Linked DNA regions of Homo sapiens: region 2 is linked to region 1. Evidence: promoter capture Hi-C in 16 types of primary human blood cells and fetal thymus (Javierre and others, 2016). All regions are on one chromosome and are shown on one strand. Each heading gives the region's core, a stretch centred on a gene start or on the middle of the fragment in contact. The rest is flanking DNA. Distances are from core to core; before and after follow the strand shown.

Region 1 (7,219 bases), core at 222-2,721:
TCAAAGGCCTTACTTCTTTCTTATCTTTAGGAGATAATGTAGGTCAACAAACATTTTAAATGTCTTCTTTTTTTTATTTATTCTTTCTACTGCTATTTAATAAGCACCAATGGCACCCACCAGGTTTTAGGTCCACAAGGCCAGTCTACTAAGAGTACTTAAAAGATGCAGAGCTTTCTGTACATAAGGTTATGTAAACAAAGGGAAATCTTATTGTAGAATGTGAAAGTAATGTGTGTGTAATCACCATCCACTGGAATTCAATCAGATTTTCCTAACAAGATGTTAGAAAGTGTCTAGGACAAAACTGACCTCAAAATGGTTTGATGGAGGCAGTTTATCTTCTGACCAGTTGCTAGTGAGGAACCCTCAAAAAGCTGTTGTTTTGTGGCCTACAGAATTCAATGCAGTTCTGACAATGATCTTCAGGTTTAAAGGTCTGAATCTACCATTCACTTAACCCTGAATTTAATCCACTGCATGTTCTGTGCAATTTTCTTTACCTAATAAAGGAACTTCCTTTTACTTGTACTCCATAGAATACCACATTTCCTTCTCATGACCTTTCTAACAGCTTCTTTGAAGTCTTTGTTCCTCAAGCTGTAGATAACTGGGTTCAGCAGTGGTGTGACCACAGTGTAGAAGACAGAAATGATCTTGTTGATTTCAGGCAACAGGTGGGGACTGGGACACACATACATGGAGATCATGGTCCCGTAGTAGAGAGTGACAACAGCCAGGTGGGAGCCACATGTGGAAAAGGTCTTTCTCCGGCCAGAGGTGGAAGGGATTCTCAATATGGAGGACACAATGAAAACATAGGGCCCCAGTGTCAGAAAAAAACAAATGCACAGCACGGCAATTGACAGGATGAAGATGGTCACCTCGGTGATATAAACTCTGGAACAGGAGAGCTGCATGAGTGGCGGGAGGTCGCAGAAGAAATGGTTAATCTGATTGCGCCCACAGAAGTCCAACCTGGAAATCATCAGGGAAGGCAGAAAGCCTGTGCTGACCCCTGTGCACCAGGAGACCACCACCAACCTGGCACAGAGCCCACGATGCATGAGGAAGGGGTAGCGGAGTGGGCTGCAGATGGCCAGGTAACGGTCATAGGCCATGAAGGCCAGGAGAAAGCACTCGGTGGCGCCGAGGAATACGAAGAAGTAGAGCTGTGCCATGCAGGCAGAGAAGGAGATGGCTTGGCCCCAGGACAGCAGGTTGGCTAGGAGAAGGGGCACAGTGGTGGACGTGTACCAGACCTCCAGAAAGGAGAGATGCTGGAGGAACATGTACATAGGGGAGTGCAGTCGCAGGCCCTGGCTCACCACGGTGATGATGACAACATTCCCTATAATGGTCAGGCAGTAGATGAGCAGGAAAATGACAAAGAGCAGGGCCTGCCATTCAAGAAGGTTCTGGAATCCTAACAGCTGAAAGTTAGTCACAGTGGAGGTATTTTGGGGCTCCATTGCCTGTGGGGGATGAAAAACATTCTGGAAAAGCACAGGATGCAAGGCGCAAATTTATCACTGGTGATGCTTGGAACTTCAGAGATTAATTTTTAAATAGTTTAGATCTGTATGCACAGCTTTTTAGAAGGATAAATGCATAATTCCATATCTCTTTCGTAAGAATACATTTTGAAATCTTAAGCTGAATGTGAATATTAGATCTTGTAAGGAGACTCAGCAAGTTTCATTCATCTGGGTTCTCTGAAATCTTGAAGTCTCCTTCCAAAGACAGGCAAAAAAGGACTCTTATTAGTAGATCTTCAGTGTTCTCACCATACAAAAAAGAAAAATTGAGGTGATGAATATGTTAATTGGATTGATTGTGATGATTATTTCACAATGAATACATCTACGAGAACAAAGTTGTACACTGTAAATATATAGTATACAATAATTATCAACTACACCTCAATAAAGCTGGACAAAAACTCAGAAAACTAACAATAACAACAAAGCTTTAAAAAAAATCCTGCACGGCCGGGCGCAGTGGCTCACGCCTGTAATACCAGCACTTTGGAAGGCCGAGGCGGGCGTATCACGAGGTCAAGAGTTCGAGACCAGCCTGAGCAACACAGTGAAACCCCGTCTCTACTAAAAATACAAAAATTAGCTGGGTGTAGTGGTGCCTGCCTGTAATCCCAGCTACGTGGGAGGCTGGGGCTGGAGAATCGCTTGAATCCGGGAGGCGGAGATTGCAGTGAGCCAAGATCGCACCACTGCATTCCAGCCTGGGTGACAGGGCGAGACTCCGTCTCAAAAAAAAAAAAAAAATCATGCACATGTGGAAGCAAATGCCTTTCCCTTCTCATCTGTGGGCTTTGTCTGAAAAAGAAGCCAGACACAGCACATCTCCTATGCCATCTTGGGAAAGTGTATATATTCCACCCTCAAACAATATTTATTAGTCCCTGCTGTGTGTGTGTGTTTGTGTGTGTGTGTTTGTGTGTGTGTGTGTGTGTGTGAAGGCCTGTGCTGAACTAATCTGCCTCACTCCACTGGTGTCCTTTCTTGCCTCATCCGATACCATACTCATGCTCAGCCACTATAATTACACCCTCGTGTACACCTTTTATTCTTTCATTTAATTCATTGTCTATAGTTCTGGATAAAGTAAACATCCACCTGCCATACAGGAGCTTCTGTGAAGTTGAGGGAGTGAGACAAGCAAGAATAGAACCTCTTTAAAATGTACAACCAACAAACTCAGTGTGCCCTTACTGCTGGAGAGCAATCATTCTGTATTTCCCTTATAAACCAAAAATAAAATTCTAAACCCCACAACTGACTGAGCGGACTCCTCCTTTCAGCCAAGGGGATTTCAAAGAAACCTAAAAATTCTGGTTCAGATCATGATGGGAAGAGGGGGTTGGACAAACCTCATTACACTCTCCTTTCTTCAGAATTCAGGCATAACTGAGCAGCAATAACATCAAAAAAGAGATTTTAAGGCTGACGAAACAGACTCTGTAGAAATAAGCTACCAAATTCTAACCTGACTCTAGTATAGCATCATGACAGACAGCCGACCCTGAAGGAAATGGAAATATTTTACCACAAAATATATTTATTTGTCATATTTAAAATGGCCCTGCAAAGCTGTCTCTTGTGGGGGAAATCTACATTCTGCGGAGAATCCCTTTCCCTCTCCAGGCCTTTGTCTGATCCTCAAGAGATTAGCTGAAAGTCTAGCACCTTTTAAAGGTCTCAATAGAACATTTTTCCCATCTGCTGCTTCTCAGGCTGGCAACATATGAGACTTCATCTACATCATAAGAACCTTGGTTTCCCCAACCCCCCTATCTTAACCCAGATTCTCCTTTCTATTGATTCCAGGTCTTCAGACAATAACTTAATTCTTTCAACCAGTTGCCAATCAAAAAGTCTTTGCATCCACGTATGACTGTAACCTTCCCCCATTCTTGGAGCTGTCCTGCCTTTCCAGACCAAACCAACGCATAGCTCACACGTACTGATTGATGTCTTATGTCTCCCTAAAATGGATAAAGTCAAGCTGTAACACAACCACCTTAAGCACATATTCTCAGGACCTCCTGGGACTGTCACAGATCATGGTCTTTAAATTTGGCTCAGAATAAACCTCTTCAAATATTTGTTACAGACTTTGGTTTTTATCAATACCCGTATCTATTCACTCTTCCAATCTCCTAAGTGACTATTTCACTTATGTTGCTCTCTTTTCGAACGTCTAGCACATCCCTGTTGCTCTGTACCCTCAGTAAGAGACTTATTTCACTGGAAGATCCTGAAATCCTTCAGTGGAAGTATCCACAAGCTCAGGCCACTAAATTCTGCCATCGACTACCTTTTGTTCCTGTGCACCTACTCCCTACACTTCCTCTGAGTAAACTATCTGTGTCCAAGTCTAAGGCAAATCCTTCCACCTGGGCATTAGGCGCCATAACCTCCTACACACTGGAAAGGTATTGCAGGTGACAGAGGCAAAACTATTCCTATCCAAAAGACTCAGGAGTGTTGAGCTGAAGAAGACGAACACACAGGGGACCTGCCCCTTCCTCTGCTTTCCTGAAGGCAGGACCAAGATTTACAAAGACAAAGGTCTTCCTGCCTCCCCTCTGCCTCTTCCCACCTGAAGACAGTCTCCTTTATAATGCTTGCTTCTCAGCTCAGACAGCAACGCCAGGGATCTCGGAACAGACTACTCTTCCTGTAAATTTTCCTTCCCAAATGTCTTGCTTTTGGGAAGCCTGAAGATGCCGTTTTTTTTGTTTTGTCACCGTAGAGGATGTATGGCTCCTTGCTAAGATACTATTTCAGCAAGGCCTCAAAGCCACTGCTTCCAAACCGTCGCAACAATCTAGGTGAGCCGTTTTCCTGAGAGAGCTGCTTTCTTTCTTGTGGATGGGCATGACATGCATAAATAAACATGCTTGTTTTTCTCTTGGTGATCTGCGTTTTGCTCATGAAAATCTGTCCTAGCAGTGAATTTAATGAAAGTCGAGAAGAGAAATTCTTTTTTTCTCTCCTTCACTGGGTATTCTCAGCTTCATGCCTGAATCACCCATGGTGCCCTTTCTGCCAAAGCATTTCCTCAGCATGTCAATGGGCTGGATTTCTCTCCCCCACTTTAAAAAGACAAAACAGAGAAGAATGTCTAGAGGCTTTGCTGTTCTCTGAATACTACCTGCACTTTTCTGCTCCCTTTTCCCGATGCTTTCCCTTCTGGAGGGCACTGTCCCTCCCTGCTGCTCCTCGTCCTCTGCCTTCTTGCTCGCTGGAATGCACTATGATCAGGATGTTTTTCTTGCCACTGCCCCAGACGGCGCAGCTGTGCTGGCATTGCCCTCCAACCACCCATCGCATTCCCGATCCTCTTCATCTGTGGCATCATCGCACCATTGATCCCTCCCTCTTCCTGGATCCACTGGTCACTTAATATCCACAACTACATACTCTCTTAGATCAGCGACAGCCCTGGTTTTTCACACTTGTACAGGGCTTCGTGTCTTTCAATCTACCTTCATTTCCTTCACAGTTTCAGGCAGTCTCTTGACTTGAATGCTGTCACTTTGCTCTCAGCCCTCAAATTTATGTCTCAAGCTTGAACAGAAGCGTCCTGTAAAAACTGCCCTATGTGAAATGCTCACTCATGACTAGTCAGCATTTGCAATTTAACGAGACCTAACTTAGCTGACCAGCACTCCTGACTACCCCAGCCTCCCTCAGTGCAGCCTTCCCATCTCCATCCTCCCACTTGCTCAGACCAGAAACTCTGAATTTGACTCTTGTTCCTTTCAAACCCAATGTCCAATTTTTCAGCAAAATTGACTGGCTCCACCTGAAAATGTATTCAGAACTGATCTGATCACCATTTACGACCACCATCGCTTGCTGCCTGGAAAAGGCACCACTATCTCTTATCTAGATTGTTGCAATAGTTTCGTTAAAGCACCTCCACGTCCAGCCTGCCCCACTCAAGAAAGCAGTCAAAGAGAATATTTTAAAACACGGGAGAGTTTTTGCAGTGAACACAGATGTACTGTGAATTGTTCCTGAAAAGGAAGAAAACATTGTGACCAGACAATCCACATATTCACCTCTGCAGTTTCCGCTTTGTCAGAATCGACGTTCTGTTGACTTGCTGTTTCTGTTCTTCATGTCTGTTGCAATTCACTATTTCTGCTCTGTTCTACGTTCTCCTCTCATTCTTGGCCAAGTCACTGGGAATATTATTTTCATGTAGCCAGGAAATAATTATATCAAGAGAAAATAATATCTTAACATTATTGCACATGCTAAAAAGAGTATAATACTGAATGTGTCATATATATTGAACTATATAGTACTTGATTTCTTCAATAAAGCTTAAGAAACAAAAACAAAAAACCAACCAACCAACAAACAAAAACAAAGCCTTGACAGGTTACCCAGCCCTGCTTGTTCTCTCCTCCCACAGCCTCACCAAACTCTTAGTCTACTTTCTTCTTGGTCCGTTCTGCACCCAGTGCTTCCGCCTCCTTTGTATTCTTCAAGTTACCTGAAACGTGCCTCGTTTTCTCCTTAGCATGTTTAGTTCCCTGCAACGTTGTCATTGAACAGCTTTGTATGGCTCATTTCTCATGTCCTTCCAGTCTGCTCAGATAACACCTTCTTCTTTAGGCCTGATCTAACTACTCTTCTGCCATTCTCAGAATTTATAAGAGTCAAGATAAAAGTGTTAAGTATATGTTGGTTTGAAGGCAAAATATTCCAGCAGTTCTGGCTTGAAAACACTGAACGAAAACTAAGAGATGTGAGAAAATTGTTATTTGATCCACATAGATTGATTTATTCACATAGATTATTTATTCAGCCGGGCACGGTGGCTCACGCCTGTAACCCCAGCACTTTGGGAGGCCGAGGCGGGTGGATCACTTGAGGTCAGGAATTCAAGACAAGCTTGGTCAAAATGGTAAAACCCTGTCTCTACTAAAAATACCAAATTTAGCCAGGCGTGGTAGGGGGCACCTGTAGTCCTAGCTACTCAGGAGGCTGAGGCAGAAGAATCACTTGAACACAGGAGGCGGAGGCTGCAATGAGCCGAGATCGCGTCACTGCACTCCAGCCTGGGTGATAGAGCGAGACTCCGTTTCAAATAATAATAATAATAATAATAATAATAATAATAATAATAATAAATACTCTTGGTAAAACAACAATGCTTTCTTGGAAAATGGTTCCTTTTTGCTTTGGCTTTCACTTAGTATTTTATAAGAATATGACCATGGTATTCAATTTAAAATGAACATCCACAGAAAAATAAGTTAAACATGGAGCGCAATGAGGGTCTCCTTGATGAGACCACAGTGAAAACAAAACAGCCCTTTATTACAATAGGCTAAGTTTACAGGACACTGGGCTCAGATCCTAGTTTTCTAAAGTACCTCCCACAATTCATATCCAAATGCACAAGGAAAATGAACTGTTGTATAATCATCGCTTCATGGTTAAATCCTTTCAGTAATGAAGAGCTCACCACCTTTTGAAATACTGATTGTTTTTTTTTTTAAGAGACAAGGTCTTGCTTCGTTGCCCTGGCTGGAGTGCAGTGGCACAATCATAGCTCACTGTAATCTCAAACTTATAGGCTCAAGTGTCCTCCTGCCAGGGTGGCTAGGACCACAGGTGTGTGCCACCATGACTGGTTAATTATATATCCACATATTTTTTGTAGAGGTAGAGGTCAT
Region 2 (7,559 bases), core at 4,129-6,628, 240 kb before region 1:
TGAGGTAGCGGGATGGGAAGGGATTAGGAGGAGCTGATGCTTCTTCCAGTGTTATACACTGGAATGCATTATCATAGTCAGTGATTAGAGGCTTCACGGTAACTTTCATTTTGGTTCCTTGCTGCTTTAGGGTCCTCTGACACCTTATAGCTCAGCTCTCTCCCCAGGTCAGCTGATCCACCAATATTAACCACTTCTTTTCCCAGTATCTTCCGTCCAGGAAGATTCAACAGAGTCTGACTGGGAAATAGGACACATGAAAAATGCATTCATTTCTTCATCAAGCATTTATTGACACATTAGTATGCATTTGATATCATATAAATTCCATAAAGTATCAGTAGAACATGACCCCTCAGTTTAAGAAGTAGGTTATGGTTTAGTAGATACATACGGTCATAAAACATTAGGTCAGTATGGTATTGGAGTTTTTTATTGTAGAGGTAAGTTTAGGGTACGGAATGAACACAAAATAAGCCTCACCAAGGTTGGGTGGAGGGATGTATGAGAGAGGAGTGCTAATCAGAGTCAAAGAGGACTTTGTATGTTCGTGAGAAATACTGAGTCTTAAAAGTGTGTAGATAACTGCCTGGTGAAGGGGGTTGGAGAAGATTATCATTGTCATGGGAAGCAGCATAAGAAAAGCCATAGCTCCATTATGCTTAGCAAACTAACGCAGGAGCAGAAAACCAAATACCACATGTCATCACTTATAAGTGGGAGGTAAATGATGAGAACACATGGACACATAGAGGGGAACAACACACACTGGGGCCTCCCAGAGAGTGGAGGGTGAAAGGAGGGAAAGGAACAGGAAAAATATAACTAATTAGTACTAGGCTTGATACCTGGGTGACAAAATAATATTACAACAAAGCCCCATAACAAAAGTTCACCTATGTAACAAACCTGCACATGTATGCCTGAAATTAAAAGGTAAACACACACACACACACACACACACACACACACACACACACACACGGCATAGCTGAATGTAAGGGCTCAGCTTGCTTTCTGCCATCTTCTCTAAATGTGTTTGTGATCATTCTCTTCTCTATACTTGTACTAATATGTATATTTTTCTATTTATTATTTATTTTGCCATACTTAATGTAAAGATTCTCAATTATAGGGAGAATATAAATTAGAAATGTCTAAAATGGTAAAAAAAAAAAGTGTCTGAGTTTAGCACAAACTAACATTTCTACAGGCATTCTGCAAACATTCCATCTGGCTCTGGTGCGAGGAAAGAACCCACAGCTGGCTCTGAAGGGAATGTAAATATGCACATTAGACACAATCACCTTACTCAAATGTTATGCTAACATTTTACAACAAGCAGGAAGAATAACCTTGGCTGATGAGATTCTGAAACACATTTTGATTTGGGAGTCTTGGTAAGTTATACAACAATTAGTGAGAATAGGAATTGTCCTGTGATTTCACGTATCCCTACTTTCCTCATTCTGAAAGAAAAGCACGAAATCATCTTATATCCTCAGTTTACCTCCCTTTCCATTTAAAAGTCAGTATTAGGTTAATTTTGTCATTTTCATTCCATTAATTTTCTTCCCATTGACTTTCATTCAGTTAATGTTGTCATTTTGGTAATTCTCAGGCTATTCACATGACACGAACCTAGTTAATATCATGAGAACTATTGAACTATCCCTACCTGAACTCCCTCACATCAATATCTTCCCTACCCATCTTCCTATCAATGCACCAATATTTCCAAAATGGAAACAGAAAATATTACTCTCTTGTGTGCTCAGAGCCTTTAACAACATCTTACTGCCTGCACAGCAAAGCTAAGAACTTTATTTCACCCAGTGATTTCTACAGTTTGACTCCAAGTATTTTATTTTCTAAGCATACCTTCAGCACTCACCTTTTTGAATCTTTTTTAAAAAAAAACTATACTTAAATAAAACAGTATTTATCGTGTTGTACATGATAAATATATACAATTTTAATTTGTCAGTTAAAAATAAATGAATAAAGAAATAAAAACAAAGTAAGTAAAGAAATAAGAACAAAACAAACAAAAAACTGTTTTAAAATTTCAATAGCTTTGAGGGTACAAGTTTTGAGGATTATAAATCATGCTACTATAAAGACACATGCACACGTATGTTTATTGTGGCACTACTCACACTTGGAACCAACCCAAATGTCCATCAACAATAGACTGGATAAAAAAATTGTGGCACATATACACCATAGAATACTAAGCAGCTATAAAAAAGGATGAGTTCATGTCCTTTGCAGGGACATGGATGAAGCTGGAAACCATCATTCTCAGCAAACTATCACAAGGTCAGAAAACCAAACACCGCATGTTCTCACTCATAAGTGGGAATTGAACAATGAGAACACATGGACACAGAGAAGGGAACATCACACACAGGGGCCTGTTGTGGGATGGGGGACTGGGGGAGGGATAGCGTTAGGAGAAATACCTAATGTAAATGACGAGTTGATAGGTGCAGCAAACCAACATGGCACATGTATACCTATGTAACAAACCTGCACTTTGTGCACATGTACCCTAGAACTTAAAGAATAATAAAAAAATCCATAATAATAGTGGTATTATGTGATCAGCTTTTGATTAAATACTGACTCATTCATTCCATAGTATTCACTGAGCCCAGCTGTGGGTCAGGCCCTTTGATAGGTCCTGAGGACACAGCAGTAACTTTAGCTGGCTGAAGTGGTGGAAAGACAGTTGGAGTGGCCACAGGTAACTCCATTTACCCTTTTGCACAAGAAAATTAAATACACGTGTCCTAGGTGCCAAAGGTGCTTATGGAGTCAAGTATATGAGCTGCCTTTAGGGAAATATTAAGCCTAACTCTGGGTTGGGCTTTATCCAGCCCCATAAACTTAAAATTGAGTAATTTGGGGCACGTATTTTAAACATTTTTCATCTGTAGAATTAGAACACTACTACCTACCTCATATTTTGGAGCATATTATGTGAAAAAGGCCCAGAAAAAAACTATATTTTTTTAAAAAACAGTATTTATCTTGTTGTACATGATCATTATATACAATTTTAATTTGTCGATTAAAAATAAATGAATAAGTAAAGAAATAAAAACAAAACAAACAAAAAACTATATTTTAAAATTTCAATAGCTTTGAGGGTACAAGTAGTTTTTGGTTACCTGGATGAACTGCCTAGTGGTGAAGTCTGAGATTTTAGCGCACCTATCACCTGAGTAGTGTACACTGCACCTAATATGTAGTTTTTTAAATCCCCTACTCCCCTCCCACTCTCTCACCTTTTCAGTTCCCAATGTCCATTATACCACTGTGTGTGCCTGTGCATACCCATAGCTTAGCTCCCACCTGTAAGTGAGCACATACAATATTTGCCATTTCTGAGTTACTTCACTTAGAATAGTGACCTCCAGCTCCATCCAAGTTGCTGAGAGGCATTATTTCATTTTTTTCATGGTTTAGTAGTATTCCATGATGTATAACCCATTTACTTTATCCTCTCATCGGTTTATGGGCACTTAGGTTGGTTACAGATCCTTGCAATTGTGAATTGAGCTGCGATAAACATACACATGTGCATGTCTTTTTGATATAATGACTTCTTTTCCTTTGGGTAGATACCCAGTAGTGGGATTGCTGGATTGAATTTTAGATCTACTTTTGTTTTTTTGAAAAATCTCCATACTGTTTTCTATAGAGGTTATACTAATTTACATTCCCACCAGCAGTGGATAAGCATTCCCTTTTTACCACATCCACGCCAACATCTATTGTTTTTTGACTTTATAATAGTGGCCATTCTGGCTGGGGTAGGGTAGAATCTCATTGTGGTTTTAATTTGCATTTCCCTGATTATTAGTGATGTTAAACATTTAAAAAATTTGTTTGTTGGTCATTTGTATATCTTCTTTTGAGAAATGTCTATTCATGTCATTTGCCCACTTTTTGATAGGATTATTTGTTTTTTCTTGCTGATTTGCTTGAGTTCCTTGTAGATTCTGGATATTAGTCCTTTGTCAGATGCATAATTTGCAAAATATTTCTTTTTGAATCTTCTTACAAAGACAAGTGAATCATTCACACATTCTCTTCCGACATTCTCCAGATGACTTTGAGTTTTCTTCAACAGTCTCATAAATTACTTTCATTTTTGTTTATAATTTGTTTTGTGTTTTTGACATTTTGAAAGTTAAGGAATTTTATTTATTTTTATTTTTATTTTTTGAGATGGAATCTCACTCACTTTGTCTCCCAGGCTGGAGTGCAGTGGTGCGATCTTGACTCACTGCAACCGTCCACCTCCCAGGTTCAAGCAATTCTCCTGTCTCGGCCTCCTGAGTAGCTGGGACTACAGGTGTACACCACCACACTTGGCTAATTTTTGTATTTTATTACAGATGGGGTTTCACCAAGTTGGTCAGGCTGGTCTCGAACTCCTGACCTCAAGTGATCCACGTGACTCAGCCTGTCAAAGTGCTGGGATTAAAGGGGTGAGCCACAGCATCTGGCCAAAACGTTAGGGAGTTTTAATATATTTATCTCAGGGTTCCTTCAAACAAATTTTATATTTATAAGAATACTGCAATGCATCTTTAACTCTTATAATTATATATATTCCTTTGAGTATATGTATTTTTCTTCACTAGTAAGGACTATTAGCCAACTTGGTTAAATAATGCCTAAATAAATAAAAAATTTTAAAACTAATTTTTATTTTTTGGCAGTTCAATCATTGAATAAACTTTTATGAGATGATTTGAATTTATATCATATATTTTGGTTCCTTAAATATGTCTTTTCATTTTCCACCAGTTAGTACCAATGTGACACATATCAAAAATGATTTTCTATCTCCTTCATACCAATCATACCCATTTTAAAGGTTTTAAAGTCTTTGTTTTAATTAGTTTTATCTAAAAAGTCTTCCCCATCTGATTGTGCTTACAATCAAATCTGAGTAAGGTATTTCATATGCAGATAATTTATTGACAGTTGAAAATCAGGGAGATACTGTTCACCGTATTTTGAGAGAAATTTATTTTTAGTGGTAGGTCATTGTGGATTTTTTGATATGCATGTAAATATGCACTTTGATTGGCTTTAATAATCAATCCCCAGACAACTCCAAAGTTGTAATCATTCATAATTTTTAAAGATGAGCCTTTGAACTGGAATGAAGAAACATGGATTGATGTTCCAAGTCAGCAGCACATTAGTGAAAAATGAATAGTTTAGGGTGAAAAATGAATAGTTTGGGAAAGTTGGTCTCCATGATCCTCTCAGCTCATGTGTTCTGTTATTCTAAATTTAATTGTTTTGGATGTACCCATTCCATTCCTGCCTTAGGTGCGGATCCCCCTGGAGGGATGGGATTGGGCAATGAGAGTTCCCTAATGGATTTCATCCTTCTAGGCTTCTCAGACCACCCTCGTCTGGAGGCTGTTCTCTTTGTATTTGTCCTTTTCTTCTACCTCCTGACCCTTGTGGGAAACTTCACCATAATCATCATCTCATATCTGGATCCCCCTCTTCATACCCCAATGTACTTTTTTCTCAGCAACCTCTCTTTACTGGACATCTGCTTCACTACTAGCCTTGCTCCTCAGACCTTAGTTAACTTGCAAAGACCAAAGAAGACGATCACTTACGGTGGTTGTGTGGCGCAACTCTATATTTCTCTGGCACTGGGCTCCACTGAATGTATCCTCTTGGCTGACATGGCCTTGGATCGGTACATTGCTGTCTGCAAACCCCTCCACTATGTAGTCATCATGAACCCACGGCTTTGCCAACAGCTGGCATCTATCTCCTGGCTCAGTGGTTTGGCTAGTTCCCTAATCCATGCAACTTTTACCTTGCAATTGCCTCTCTGTGGCAACCATAGGCTGGACCATTTTATTTGCGAAGTACCAGCTCTTCTCAAGTTGGCTTGTGTGGACACCACTGTCAATGAATTGGTGCTTTTTGTTGTTAGTGTTCTGTTTGTTGTCATTCCACCAGCACTCATCTCCATCTCCTATGGCTTCATAACTCAAGCTGTGCTGAGGATCAAATCAGTAGAGGCAAGGCACAAAGCCTTCAGCACCTGCTCCTCCCACCTTACAGTGGTGATTATATTCTATGGCACCATAATCTACGTGTACCTGCAACCTAGTGACAGCTATGCCCAGGACCAAGGGAAGTTTATCTCCCTCTTCTACACCATGGTGACCCCCACTTTAAATCCTATCATCTATACTTTAAGGAACAAGGATATGAAAGAGGCTCTGAGGAAACTTCTCTCGGGAAAATTGTGATTCCTATGGACATGATTTGCAAGGAATTCATTATAAGCCAGGTAGCTTATTCAGCTTCTATTTAGTCAAACCCATAGTTCTAAATTTCACATGAACTATATTACTGCTCACTTATTTTCTCTTCATAAGGGACTTTTTCCTTTTTTATGTGTAACTAAGTAAAATGTTTATATGTTTATTTGAGAGCATAAACTATTGAAAAGAGAGCTGTGGATGGTTGTAAATTGTGATCCTCACCACAAAGCCTCTATTTTATGTCTGATACTTATTCCCAGGGATTCAGAAAAATAAATTATTAAGTATTTACCATGTATTTATCTAGGTTAGGAGACTTTTCTTCAGTTTTAATAAAATGTTCAGTTTCCTGCCAAACACTTTACATTTACATCGTAATGTCCTTCATTATAGCTTTATGTTGAAAATAAGCAATTCCTGCATGTGCTCGTAGTTCAAATTTATTGGTCAGTAGGATATTGCATAAGCTATTTTTAAATAACCGTTCCAAATACATTTTAAGAATTTATAAGGGGTAACAAGAACAAAATACGCTAAACACATTATTTTTCATAACTTAGAGTGTGCATCTCTTTTTGTGTTCTGAGGCCACTTTATCCTTGTGCAGGAGCCATGCTCATCTTCTCTGTATTATTTCAATGTTAGTATATGAGTTGCAGAAGTGAGAACTGAGGTCACTTTATACATGGTAGGTACAAGACTTTTGAAAGAATAAAATAATCAAATAATTTTCTTCTATACCTTTTCATACATTCAATCAATGAGAATAATTGGACTTCAAAAGACATTATTATTTTCTTTTTTTAAAAATACAGCTTCATTGAGGTATAATTGATATACATATTTAATGTATAAAATTTGAGGAGTATGGGCTAGGCGCGGTGGCTCACACCTGTAATCCCAGCACTTTGGGAGGCTGAGGCGGGCGGATCACGAGGTCAGGAGATCGAGACCATCCTGACTAACACGGTGAAACCCCGTCTCTACTAAAAAAAAAATAAAAAAAAATTAGCTGGGCTTGGTGGCAGGTGCCTGTAGTCCCAGCTACTCGGGAGGCTGAGACAGAAGAATGGCGTGAACCCGGGATGCAGAGCTTTCAGTAAGCCAAGATCGCGCACTGCACTCCAGCCTGGGCGACAGAGCGAGACTCTGTCTCAAAAAAAAAAAAAAAAAAAGAAAAAAAAAGAAAAAAAATTTGATGAGTATGATATATACATACACCCTTGAAAATATCAC

What was found. Contacts are between HindIII fragments. The CHiCAGO score rates a contact against its expected background, and 5 or more counts as called.
Region 2: a contact is called between the fragment with the promoter of OR2G3 here and the fragment with the promoter of OR11L1 in region 1, in 3 of 17 cell types (naive CD8 T cells, erythroblasts and total B cells). The highest score is 6.5, in naive CD8 T cells.

The regions. Positions count from the first base shown.
Region 1 is chr1:247,840,425-247,847,643 of GRCh38, forward strand. OR11L1 (olfactory receptor family 11 subfamily L member 1) reads right to left here and starts at 1,472. Exons shown (of 1, transcript NM_001001959.1): 1 at 504-1,472. The coding sequence starts at 1,472. The coding sequence ends at 504. The HindIII fragment of the contact is 3,435 bases long and covers 1-1,967 here.
Region 2 is chr1:247,600,208-247,607,766 of GRCh38, forward strand. OR2G3 (olfactory receptor family 2 subfamily G member 3) reads left to right here and starts at 5,379. Exons shown (of 1, transcript NM_001001914.1): 1 at 5,379-6,308. The coding sequence starts at 5,379. The coding sequence ends at 6,308. All of the region lies in intron 2 of LOC102724446 (a long non-coding RNA gene), which reads right to left. It also overlaps the pseudogene LOC124904709. The HindIII fragment of the contact is 9,716 bases long and covers 1-7,559 here.